Regions from separate parts of the Homo sapiens genome. Here region 2 is linked to region 1. The links are contacts of gene promoters, found by promoter capture Hi-C in blood cells and fetal thymus (Javierre and others, 2016). All regions are on one chromosome and are shown on one strand. Each heading gives the region's core, a stretch centred on a gene start or on the middle of the fragment in contact. The rest is flanking DNA. Distances are from core to core; before and after follow the strand shown.

Region 1 (6,477 bases), core at 2,367-4,866:
TGTAGATAAATTATGTTAGTTAAAAAACAAGAATTGAATATTTAAAAATGATAATTCAAGAAAATTAGTGTAAAATTTTATTTTAAAATATGGTAATAAACACTAGAAGAATCAGCTACAGGTTTTAAAAGTGGTTGCATCTGAGAGAGAAACAGGGGTGTGGGGGAGAATAAGGGTGAAGAATAGTTATTTTTACTTTGAAAAATATTTTAAATTATAACACAAACAAGAGTTTCTAAATTTTGAAAGTGCATTGCATTAATAAAAAAATTAATTGGGATATTTGTTTTAACTTATCAGAACACATGCCATTTACATCTTTTAAATTTCCTTAATTTCTAATAAAAAAAAAATCACCTCTATGCAGTTAGTTCACTTCTCATATACACTCAACTTCAGTTTCTTCCCCACTCCAAGCATGCTGACATTCACTACCCAAAAACACTTCTCAAGGGAAATAAGTTCCTGTTTATCCATTTATAACTTTCCCCTCAAAGTTCTAGTTCAAGGCCATTTTTCTTTTTAACATGAGTTTGAGTTTACTCAAAATACTGTAGAGTCTGAGAACTAATCAGCCCACACAGGGACTTTTTAAATACAGCTTCCTAAGTAGTCTTTAATCTTCTACAAACCAATTCATTCTGCATATAGTTTACAAGTAAATCAATTTAAAATACTGTTTTCATCATCTCTCCTTTGCACAAGGACCTGATGATTCCCCTCTTCTAATGGGACAGCATTCAAACTCTTTTTTGTATCTGAAGGCTCCCAGTCTGCCCTTCTTATCTCATGTTCTTAGTCCTTAACTCCCCGAAGTGTACCTTCCACTTTTGTCAGGCAGATCTTTCTACCTCCTCTTCATAACATGCTGTTCTTACTTTTATCTCTTATAAATGCTCTGTCCCCAAAATTGAACTTCCAAGTTGAACGTCTTCACCTAACTTTTTATTTATACTAAGGTCAAGCTCAAGTTCCATGACTCTGGAAGCTGCCCCTTTGGCCTGCACTGACCCATCTCTTCTTGCTTGAATTCAGACAGCCACGAATGCTTGCTTCAAATGAATGTAGTTTCAAAACTGTGTTGGGTCACTATCATGGAGGTAGAGGTGTGGGAGTGGTCATTGTTTCATGCAATGCCAACCACAGAAAAGAAAAATAACTATTACTTGAACATTTTAAAAATTCAGATAATTAAACTTGAATTCCTTCCAAGTCAACCTTAAAAACTCACCATCAGTCAATTAAACAAAAAAATTAGAACACTGACTTTTTCCCCACTGCAAAATAGGCCCCTCTTCCACAAAACACAACACATGGCTAATACAATGAGACTACTGTGAGTGACTGCTGCCTCAAGATGAGGCACAGAACGAGACACATTCAAGAAGGGATACGAGGGATACGAGATTGCAAGGAAATAAAGGGTGTTTATATAGAAACAAACCTGGATCCACTCAAATTTATTTCTTTAAAGTCATTTTTAAACTTTGGTATTTTCACTATTTTTCCAAAAAATCACTTGCTACTCATACCTCACAAACAGTGGTTTTGCATCCCAACACTAAGGCTGACTTTAAAGACAACCAATCAGCTACTGCATATCCATTATTATATTAATGACTAAAGTTTTATCAAAATAATCATATTTGTACTTACTTGAAAGATACCTTTACTTTGGGTTTAAAATAGGGTGCATTCTGGTCTGCCAAAAAGACGATTAAGTCATTTCCTAAAGAAAACAAATATATGATATTAGAAAAATGTTTGTTGATAAGATATCTAATCAGTGGTTACAAGAAGGTTTCTGGGCACTGTTCTCAACAAGAAAACTTTTATTCTACTCCAGTTCATCTGCCCTCTCAAGCATAGTCCCACTAGTCCAATGGAGATGCCTAACATTATATCACAAGTTCAATGTTCAAAGTAGCAGAGAAATAGAAAGGATGAACATGGGAAAAAGCAGCTGATCAAGAGAAACTGAAGCCAGTGGATTCTGCGAGGAGTCAGATTGGTTGACTTAAAAGAACCATATAAAGATGCCTTATAACTATACTACATGTCAAGACTTGTCTTCCCCGAATCTAGCAATGCTGTCCCTTGTAAGGCTGTTTGGTTCATTACACAGATGCATCACACCAAGGATGCAGGGACTCCCATTGTAGATATCTGACAAAGACATAATTAAGCATGTGAGCACAAAATGCTGAATCCTCCAAGACCCTCCTCCTATGGGGCCATCCTCCAGAGGGTGACACATTCTTGGAGCTCAATTAGCACTCATTGAGACAGACTTTTGGAATTGTTTAATCAAACACAGGCCATCTTTAAAGTCAAGGCTACTCTCTGTATCCAGTTTGGACACAGCAGCAACAGGTTTGGCAGTACACTGCAAAATGAGGAGTCAAAAAGATTGGGAAAATATTCAGGGTTTGTAAGAGGTTCCTGCATCCCCGCAAGGGCTCCAAGAAGTCTGGTTCAGGATCCTGTCAGGCAAGCTCTGAGTAGCTCTTCCTTCCTTCCTTCACAGCATTGATCTTTAAGCAGCACCTGCTTCTGTAGGTACTCAAGAACCCTAAGACCCCCTAATGCCCACTGTCAGCATCAAGATTTACAAAAAAGTTAGTTTAACGATTGTCAAAGCAAAGAATTTCCAAGAACAAGTTAGCAAAGAAAGTAGACATTTGGAACACTAAGGTGATGACCAAGATGAGGAAGGAGTACACGAAAGAACAGGCAGCTCAAGAGAGAAATTTCTGTAGTTTGAGACTGCTTTCCCAAGGAGGCATTGGGTTTATCAGTGGTCCCTGCAAAATGCTTGTGTGAGCTGTTTAGTGTTTAGGCCCTTGGAAGGGTACATTCGCTTCATAGAAAGTTGTGGCCTTGACAAAGAAAGGGGTGGGCGAATTAGGTAGGTGGGGAGGCAAGAAGAAGCCCCCTATGAGAAGAGATTGTCAGGTTGCACCTTTTCATGTTCATCAACGGGGAAGGAAGACTGAAGCAAAATAGAAAGGAATGAGTGGGCCTTGGGAGCGAACGTTGAGGCAAGCTACAAAGATTCCTAGGAATCAGGAAGCACTTTGGAAAACAGGTGATTCCATGGGGAGGAGGGGGTAAGGTGACTGGGTGAGGGCCGCAGACTTCTTAGGAACAAAACTGAGGTGCTGTCAGGGCTTTTGAGGGTAGGTCAAACTGTAGGGTAGCTGGGTCAGAACCTGGGGTTGGAAAGGGTGGTGCAAAAGGACAAGCTGTTAAGAATGCTAAAGGGAAGGCCACAGGGCTGGGAGAGAAGGACCAGGAAATGCAGAAGGACCGGCCATTGGGCAATGGGTTTGGGGAACACCGGGAGAGGCACACGGACAGCGAACAGAGGGAGGGCCCGGCAAGCACTGACTTTCCCGCAGCACGAAGAGATCCGTCTGCTTGTCGGAGTTGAGGTCCCCGAAAGCCGCAAGGGTGCCCCAGGCCTCGGCCCCAAAGAGCTCGGCCGTGACGTTGTGCAGCGCCCGCGCTGGGACCGGCCCGACTCCCAGTAGTGCAAGCCCTGCGAGGAGCGGCGAGAAGAGGGCCCAGGAGCTCGGGAGCCGGCCCGCCGCCGCCATGGCAGCCCCTCAGCCCCCGCCCGCCGGCCCAACGCCGCGCTTGACGACAGCCGCAAAGCACCGCGTTACCGGCCGAGAGAGTGGCGCGCAGCCCCGGGACGCGTAAGAGCCGCTGCCGGCTCCTTTTTCTCTCTCCCACTAGGGCTGCCCTTCCGACGCTAAAAAAGCAGTGGAGCTAGGGTGAAAGCCGCCCTCACGCTCACTTCCGGCAGGCGCGCCTCCCGACAGTGTCGTGCGGGGGGCGTGGCCCGGCATTGCTGACAGGCGGCCCCGGGGGCGGTGGCCAAGGCGGCGACCGGAGCGCGATGGCGGGGGCGGCGGGACTCACGGCAGAAGTGAGCTGGAAGGTCTTGGAGCGAAGAGCTCGGACCAAGCGCTCAGGTTTGGCTGGCTGGGGCGCCGCCCCCCACCCGAGTACCTTGGGTGGTGCTTCGCCTCAAGCGCCTTGGCGGGAGGCAGGTGGGGGCCCTGGGAATGAACCTGTGCCCCGAGTTCCTCCTTAGAAAGCAGGTGGCGGCCCTGGCCTTGTTTCTAATATCTTCCTCCACCTCTAAAAATTAGGTGGCAGAGCCAGCTCCACTCTGCGTGTGCCCCCGACTCTATTCCGCTTGTGAGCCCCACTCGGAAAGTAGGCAGCGGTCCGGACTTCCCTTAGAGTCTTCTAACTTAAAAATCGGGCGGCGGCACATTCCTGGGAAAGGGAATGTGTCTTCCCTGTGAATGTGTCTTTCCTGTGAATGTTCTCTGCAAAAGTCAGATAGCTTAATCAGACCAAGTCAGATGTAACTACGATCTGGCTGCAGAAAGCCGGCGTCTGGGCTCCTTGCTTTATGTCTTATATCCCTTTTACATTCCCCACAGGTTCTAAGCAGTAGACCTGTCATCTATCTAGCAGAAACTGAAGGAGACTGGGCCTCAGATATTGAAGAGTATAGTTAGGGCCCAGAAAGAAAAGGGCTTCTTAAGTGGCCCCAGGTTGTGTGGTTTCCAAACCCGAAAGCATAGAGGTCAGAAGGTGCCTTGCAGGCAGTTTTAACAGTTCCAAGTGTCCCGAACTGACTTGTTCAAATTGCAACGTCATGACTTGTGGCGTTATTAAAACTTCCTGTATTCCTGGTTGGCTGGATATAATCTTGAACAAAAGGCATGCACTTAAACAGGAAAGGTGAAAGGCGGAATGCAGGTTTTCAGCTAAGGAGCTTCCCTTTTAAAGAATTGATGAAGTGTCATTATTGGGGGTGGGTGTGAAAGGTGTTAGCTAGGAAAATTAACTTTGCACTTGCATTGATATTAAGAAATTATTTTCGGACGGGCGCGGTGGCTCACGCCTGTAATCCCAGCACTTTGGGAGGCCGAGGCGGGCGGATCACCTGAGGTCAGGAGTTCGAGACCAGCCTGGCCAACCTGGTAAAACCCCATCTCTACTAAAAATACAAAAATTACCTGGGCGTGGTGGCGGGCGCCTGTAACCCCAGCTACTCGGGAGTCTGAGGCAGAAGAATTGCTTGAACCTGGGAGGCGGAGGCTGCAGTGAGTGGAGGTCGCACCACTGCACTCCAGCGTGGGCGACAGAGTGAGACTCCGTCTCAAAAAAAAAAAAAATTATTTTCTCACCTAATATGTTCTCCTTACGTTTTGGGCTTTTCCTATTTATGAAGTTCTTAGTTGTCTGTTGTGCACACTGACTTTTTTTTTTTTTTTTTTGGAGAAAGTAAATCTAATTTCTGAAAATCTAATTTCAGAAATCATACACCGAACACTCTGTTTTTTTATACCTTACAAAAAGTTCAGCTTTATATACTTAGGGTTATAGTAAAATTACCATCTATGAAGTATGAGATAATTTTTTCAAAAAGTAGTCCTTAGTACTACTAAGAATCAATAAAGTGACTTGGAATAGTCACATGTATTTGTTTCACACTTTTTCTTAAATTGTTTTTGTGTGATATAGAAATACTGAGTTGGCTACTAACGATGTGGCTATCTGGATATAAAAAGTGTTATTGGATTGGTTATGTCTGAACAAAGAGAATAACTGGAGTTTTCTTACAGGGACCTGAGTACTGCCCCCAACATATATTTTTGCAACATTTCTCTTTAACTTTCATAAGCTCATAGAGTTGATTTTCTTCGTCAGTCTTTGTTTCCTCTGAAATGCATGTCATAACAGTAAGCTTTGAAAACCTTAATTCTCTTTTCTTAGCTGAGAAAAAAAATTCTAGTGTTAACTGTTGTTGAGTGCAGTTATTTAAATCCACTTTTATGTGCAAAGTGCATAGTATCAATGTTGAATGTTCCTGTATGTTTACATCATAGTAGTAAAGAGATACCACTTGAAGTTATTCCTCCAAATTAATAGTTAAATTTGAGGTTTCAGATTCTTGTAAGTATATGAAGTACAGAGGATAAAGTTAATAACTCGAGTTAATAACTTCCTGTATCATTAAAAGCAATCAACTTGATTCTGTTTGTTACTTTTAGAAGAATATATAAATGGAGCTTTGTTAAACACTTGACTAACCTGACTCCAGTATAGAGTCCTCCCCACAGAGTTCTGAGCATTGTTACATAGTAGCATAATTACTTCACTGCACAACAGAGGATACTACTTTTATGTAATGTCTAATAAGTGGATATTATATAGTTTCTATCTCATCCATATGAGCAAGTGTAATTTATCAAAGCAAAGAAAATCACATTTTCAAGTCATAAAAGAGAAAATAAAATTATAATGATCCTCAGTTACTGCCTTTGTTGCATACTGCATCATGTTAATAACTGCTCACACTGCTTTCAATTAATTTAACACTGATTGCTTCTAACCTTTACTAAACAGTTTTAAAATTGCTATAGCTTAGCCTGCGACGCTTATGATTAG
Region 2 (6,477 bases), core at 1,869-4,368, 1.2 Mb after region 1:
TTCCACTAGGACCCCCCGCCCAGTTATACCCGTGGTGTGGGGTTGGGGCTGGGCAGCCCAATTTTACCAGCTGCTTCAGCCTATTCTGAGGTGTGGGGATCCAGCTACAAGAAAGAGCAGAGATAAAAGACGGAAGCAGTTTCATCATTTTTGATGTGACAAGGAAGTCACGTTTTTGTCTGGAGTTCTCGGACTCTGTCATCTTTTTCTGGGTTCTCCTTCCGTCCTGACTCAACTTGGCATTTTGAGAAATGAAGCTTTAGCGACTCAGGAAGGGTGGCCAGAGACAACAGTGCCACCTTGTGGCAGCAGCCTGGCATTACAGTCCTGGAAGGCGGCTGTTTAAATGGAAAGAACTGTGATAACAGGGTAGTCATAGAGAAATCTCAGCGAGCCTTTATTATATGCCAGACGCCATGCCAAGTCTTCTTCATGGATTTGTTTATTTAAAACTCACAAGAGTAAGAAGTAGATACTATTATTATCCCAGTGTTACAGGCCTGGAGGAATGGAGCTTGAGAGAGAGGGAGCTATGCTCATGATCTCTGGGTAGTGAGGGCTGGAGCTGGGGCCAGCTTGGGCAGTCGGGCTTTAAAGTCCACGATTCCAACCCTTTTTTTCTTTTTTTTTGAGAAGGGGTCTCACTCTGTCACCCAGGCTGGAGTGCAGTGGTGCAATCTCGGCTCACTGCAACCTCTGCTTCCCAAGTTCAAGCGATTCTCTTGCCTCAGCCTACCGAGTAACTGGGATTACAGGCACTTGCCACCATTCCCCGCTAATTTTTGTATTTTTAGTAGAGATGGGGGATTCACCATGTTGGCCAGGCAAGTCTCGAACTCCTGACCTCAAGTGATCAACCTGCCTTGGCCTCCCAAAGTGTTGAGATTACAGGTGTGAGCCACCGCGCCTGGCCTGATTCTAACCTTTGGATATATTTCCTTTTTAAAAAAAGAAGGATCCCTTTCTGGTGGGGACCTCCAGATTTTAGACTCTTTAGACCTGTGCTATTTTATTGACTGGAGCCAAGCAGTGAAGCCCTGGGTGGGGAGCTGGGGACCTGGGCTCTGGTGTTAGCTCCCCTCTCTCCTACCCAGGGAGTCCCGGGCAGTCATTCAGGTTCTTTTTCTTAGTTTGTAGGTGGAGGATAATAATATTTCACCTGGGCCGGGCGCGGTGGCTCACGCCTGTAATCCCAGCACTTTGGGAGGCCGAGGCGGGCGGATCACGAGGTCAGGAGATCGAGACCATCCCGGCTAAAACGGTGAAACCCCGTCTCTACTAAAAATACAAAAAATTAGCCGGGCGTAGTGGCGGGCGCCTGTAGTCCCAGCTACTTGGGAGGCTGAGGCAGGAGAATGGCGTGAACCCGGGAGGCGGAGCTTGCAGTGAGCCGAGATCCCGCCACTGCACTCCAGCCTGGGCGACAGAGCGAGACTCCGTCTCAAAAAAAAAAAAAAATAAATAAATAAATAATATTTCACCTGTTCACCTTATAGCATCTTTGCAAGAATCTATGGAAAACAGACAATTGGAATTGAAATTGTATAGCAGTGGGAAAGGCAAGGTAGTGTCTGATATTCTTAGCAAATAGAAGGGTAAAAAGATGCGATTTTCCCTGATACCTCAAACCAACTGCACTTGAATTAACATAGAAACAGAAAACCAAATACCCCATGTTCTTACTTATAAGTGGGAGCAAAATATTGGGTATTGGGACACAAAGATGGAAACAATAGACACTGGGGACTCCTAGAGGGTAGAGGAAGAGAGCTGCAGGGGTTGGAAAACTACTTATTGGGTCCTATGCTTGTGACAGAATCAATCGTACCTTAAACTTCGGCATCATGCAATATACCCATGTAACAAACCTGCATGTATATCCTCTGCATCTAAAACAAAAGTTGAAATTAAAAAAGAAAAGAAGAGACGTGGCTGGGCAAGGTGGGTCACACCCATAATCCCAGTACTTTGGGTGGGCACCTGTAATCTCAGCTACTCAGGAGGCTGAGGCAGGAGAATCGCTGGAACCTGGGAGGTGGAGGTTGTAGTGATCTGAGATCACGCCACTGCATTCCAGCCTGAGGAACAAGAGTGAAACTCCATCTCAAAAAAAAAAAAAAAAAAGAAGAGACGTGGTTGTGCTAGGTTAATAATAAACCCTAAACTCTCAGCAGTTCAAAAGAACAGAGTGTCTTTCTCACCCCATGCTGTGTGTCCACTGCAGGTCCACCAGGGGCTCTGCTTGTCTTAGTCACTCAGGGGCCTTGTGTGACAGAGACTCCATCTCAACAAGTGCTTCTGTGACCCAGCAGGCAGTAAAAAGAGGATGGAGACCACAGACTGACCTGTCTGCTTCTGCCTAAAAGTGACACATGTCATTTTCACTCATACTTCATGGGCCAAAGCAGATCACATGGCCGTGCACGAGCTCAAGTGGGTGGAGAGGTGCAGCCCCACCATGTGCCCAGAAAGAGAGCTGAGCATTTGAGACCTTTCTTTCTTCTTTTCTGCTTTCCCTCTTCCCTTCTTCCTGCTTTCCTTCCCTTCTTATTTACTAAGTGCCTACTATTTAGATGATGTATCCTCACTGGGATTATCATTTGTTATTTAAAAAATTTAAATAATAAATTTAATTTGTTTTGTTATTTATTATTTACTTTTTTTTTTTTTCTGAGATGGGGTCTTGCTCTGTCACCCAAGCCAGAGTGCAGTGGCACGATCTCAGCTCACTGCAACCTCCGCCTCCCAGGTCCAAGCGATTCTCCAGCCTCAGCCTCCTGAGTAGCTGGGGTTACAGGCATGCGCCACCGTGCCAAGCTAATTTTTGTATTTTCAGTAGAGATGGGGTTTTGCCATGCTGGCCAAGCTGGTCTCAAACTCCTGAGCTCAGGTGATCCACCCACCTTGGCCTCCCAAAGTCCTGGGATTACCGATGTGAACCACTGTGCCTGGCCTGTTTTTATTTTCTAAAGATGGGGTCTTGCTCTGTTGCCCAACCTAGAGTGTAGTGGCTATTCACAGATATTATCATAGCTCACTGCATAGCTCACTGCAGAACCTGGGTTTACTGATGCACACCACTGCACCCAGCCTCACTGGGATTATAAAATAAGACAAAACTCCGTCCTCAAGGCTCACATGATCTCATGGCCGAGTCAGAAAAGCCGACCAAGATCAGCACAAGTTGATATGTGAACACAGATATGAGGCAGCTCACCCAGCCTGGTGTGAAGCTAAGGAAGGCTTCCTGGAGGACGTCCCCAAGGAAGGTAGGAACAAGCCTGATGAGAGGCAGGGGAACCTGAATAGCACAGCTCATGCCTGTAATCTTAGCTACCAAGAAGGCAGAGGCGGGAGGATATCTGGAATCCAGGTGTTCAAGACCAGCCCAGGCAACATAGCAAGACTCTTAAAAAAAAAAGACGCAGGGAGATCATTTTCAGCAGAAAGAGCAGAAGATGAAAATGTCTGCAGGAGAGCTCTGTGGCCAGCAGTAAGATGTTCTGCAGGCCTGAGGAATGTTGTGGGGGATGGTGTGAGGATGAGCAGGCACAGCAGGAAGTGGGTCCAGACCACTTAAGGCTTCAGGACCACTGGAGACTGGATTTCCTGAGAAGGCCATGGGGGCCATAGAGAGGCTGGTTAAATTTATTTTATTTTTTCCAATTTAGCCTTGACTTGAAACTCATAAATTTGTTTTCTCTGAGACAGGGTCTCACTATGTTGCCCAGGCTGAACTCAAACTCCTGGGCTTGAGCCATCCTCCTGCCTCAGTCTCCCGGGGTACTACAGGTGTAAGCCACCATGCCCGCCTGCCATAGAAAGGTTTTAAGCAGGACATTAACACTGTGAGGTCCTCTCTCTGTAGGGTGGGTTGGAGGGGAAAGGATTGAGAACAGAGAGACAGCACTTTGAGAGGCTGAGGCAGGTGGATCGCTTGAGGTCAGAAGTTCAAGAACAGCCTGGCCAACATGGTGAGATCCCGTCTCTACTAAAAATACAAAAATTAGCTGGGCGTGGTGGTGTGTGCCTGTAATCCCAGCTATTCAGGAGGCTGAGGCAGGAGAATTACTTGAACCTGGGAGGCGGAGGTTGCAGTGAGCCGAGATGGCACCACTGCATTCCAGCCTGTGCAACAAGAGTGAAACTCCATCTCAAAAAAAAAAAAAAAAAAAAGAAAGGAAAGATAGGATGCTGATGTCATAGCTAGAGGGAGATGACAGAGCCTCAAATGCAGGCAATGTTTGGGGACATAGAGAGGATAAAATTGATCAGAGAGGTGATATGCAGAGGCAGCCTATAGGACTTGGTTTTTATGGAAAGTGGGAGTAACGCTGAACCTTAAGAATGTCTGGGTTTCAAATGGCATGGAATGGCTGAGGTGTATTATTCATTCAGGATACTTATTAATGTCTATCATGGGTTCTTTCTGGGTGCTTGGAATACATCAGTGTTAAAAGAGACCAAAAAAAAAAAAAAGAAGACAATTCCCTGCCCTCGTGATCGTGAGGTTGATATTCCAGTGGGGGAGCAGGCAATAAATACCAAATCTAAATATGTACATTTTACAATATTAAAAAGTAGACCACATTGGGGGAAAGGCAGGGAAAGGATGGTCGGGAGAGTTGGGAAGGGAGGGGTGTCGATATTTTAAGTAGGGCAGTTAGAAAAGATCTCATTGAGGTTGGGCTGAGTGGCTCACACCTGTAATTCCAGCACTTTGGGTGGTCAAGACAGGAGGATTGCTTGAGCCTAGGAGTTCAAAACCAGCCTGGGCAACATAGTGAGATATCGTCTCTACAAATAAAAAAATTAGCCAGGTGTGGTGGTGCACACCTGTGGTCCCAGATATTCAGGAGGCTGAGGAGGAAGGATCATTTGAGCCCAGGAGTTTGAGGCTGCAGTGAGCTATGATTGTGCCACTGCACTCCATCCTGGGCAACAGAGTTCAGAAAAAGAATAAAAAGAAGAAATCTCATTGAGAGGTGATATTTGACAAGAGTCTTGAAGGAGGCAGGAGTAATGGAGAGGGTGCGTTCTCTGTTCCAGAGGCTAGACTGAGGGAGGAGGCAGGCGGCGTGCACACCAGTTCCCAGGAGAGATGTTTCCCTTAGGTGGCCTTCCATGACATCCACCACACACTTACGCTTCCATCTCATTTTCCAGGACTCACATACACGACCATCTCTGTCTCCAGGGAAGACTAGGCCATGCAGGGAGGGGAGATGGATGCCAAGCCAGGCGTCTGCCACCTCAGAAGGTGACACTTGAGCTGGGTGCTGGTGAATGAATGCACAGGCTTATTTCAGTGAGTAGAGATGATGAGGGGCATTCCAGGCAGAGGAAATGGAACGTAAAGGCAGAAAGGAGTGGAAAAGAATGTTTGGGAAAATACACGCTGGATGGAGTGACTGGAAGAGAGAGAGAGAGTGTGTGTGTGTGTGTGTGTTTGTGTGTGTATGTGTGTGTATGTGCGTGTGTATGTGCGTGTGTGTGGGTAAGGGTGAAGCACACACAGAGGTCACAGACTCAGATGCTCTCAGAGTTGAGGCAGGAAGTGAATGAGGCCAACAGAGATTAAGCAACAGGGAACAGTGGAGTCTGTGGCATCTTGGTGTGCTCAGCTCCCATCTGAAGTGGGTAGCTGTGATTTTGCTTCAAGTCGTATAATATAGGACCAAGGGGGCTGGATAGTCTAATTTCTTCTGAGCAGCCAAGAATCTAGATTTTTATATAAAATCCTCCAGTTTTAACTAATTAAACATTTTAAGCATGCTAAGTGAACATGTCGGTAGCTTGGACATGGCCCATAGACAGCTGGTTTGTGTGGGGTAATATAGAACATAAGGGGGTGGACCCACAGTTCATTGCTGGAATCAAGCTAAATAAAATATCTCAAAGGGCAACAGGGGCAAGTTGAAAAGAAGAAGGACGCTAGTTAGCCAGTTAAGACCGATCACTTTGTCTCAGGGTTTCGTTCTAAGCTTTGCTGGTTTAGAAATTCTGCCAGGCGCAGTGGCTCAGGCTGGGGGTGGTGGCTCACGCCTGTAATCCCAGCACTTTGGAAGGCTGAGGCGGGCCTATCACTTGAGGTCAGGAGTTCAAGACCAGCCTGGCCAACATGGTGAAACCCTGTCTCTACTATAAATACAAAAATTAGCCAAGTGTAGTGGCACGTGCCTGTAGTCCCAGCTACTCGGGAGGCAGAGGTTGGAGAATCGCCTGAACCCAGGAGGTGGAGGTTGCAGTGAGCTGAGATCGCACCATTGCACTCCAGCCTGGGTGACAGAATGAGACTCTGTCTCAAAACAAACAAACAAACAAACAAACAAAATAGAAATTCTGCCTTTCTTTTCTCAATACTGACATGAGCAGACTCAGTAGGACTGGCTCACACTAACTATCAGTCAGGATGGGCTAGGCTCTGCTCCAGTGACAAATAATCTCCAAACCTCAGCGGCTTCACACAACAAAACT

What was found. Contacts are between HindIII fragments. The CHiCAGO score rates a contact against its expected background, and 5 or more counts as called.
Region 2: a contact is called between a fragment that was not itself captured here and the fragment with the promoter of ITFG1 in region 1, in 1 of 17 cell types (neutrophils). The highest score is 5.6, in neutrophils.

The regions. Positions count from the first base shown.
Region 1 is chr16:47,457,447-47,463,923 of GRCh38, forward strand. ITFG1 (integrin alpha FG-GAP repeat containing 1) reads right to left here and starts at 3,617. Exons shown (of 18, transcript NM_030790.5): 1 at 3,392-3,617; 2 at 1,657-1,729. The coding sequence starts at 3,599. PHKB (phosphorylase kinase regulatory subunit beta) reads left to right here and starts at 3,885. Exons shown (of 31, transcript NM_000293.3): 1 at 3,885-3,980. The coding sequence starts at 3,905. RefSeq lists a silencer at 3,526-3,995. The HindIII fragment of the contact is 8,409 bases long and covers 1-5,771 here.
Region 2 is chr16:48,630,298-48,636,774 of GRCh38, forward strand. The region is part of intron 1 of LOC105371240 (a long non-coding RNA gene); the gene reads left to right. Among named protein-coding and RNA genes, the nearest start is that of N4BP1, 23 kb to the left of the region's middle. The HindIII fragment of the contact is 5,727 bases long and covers 256-5,982 here.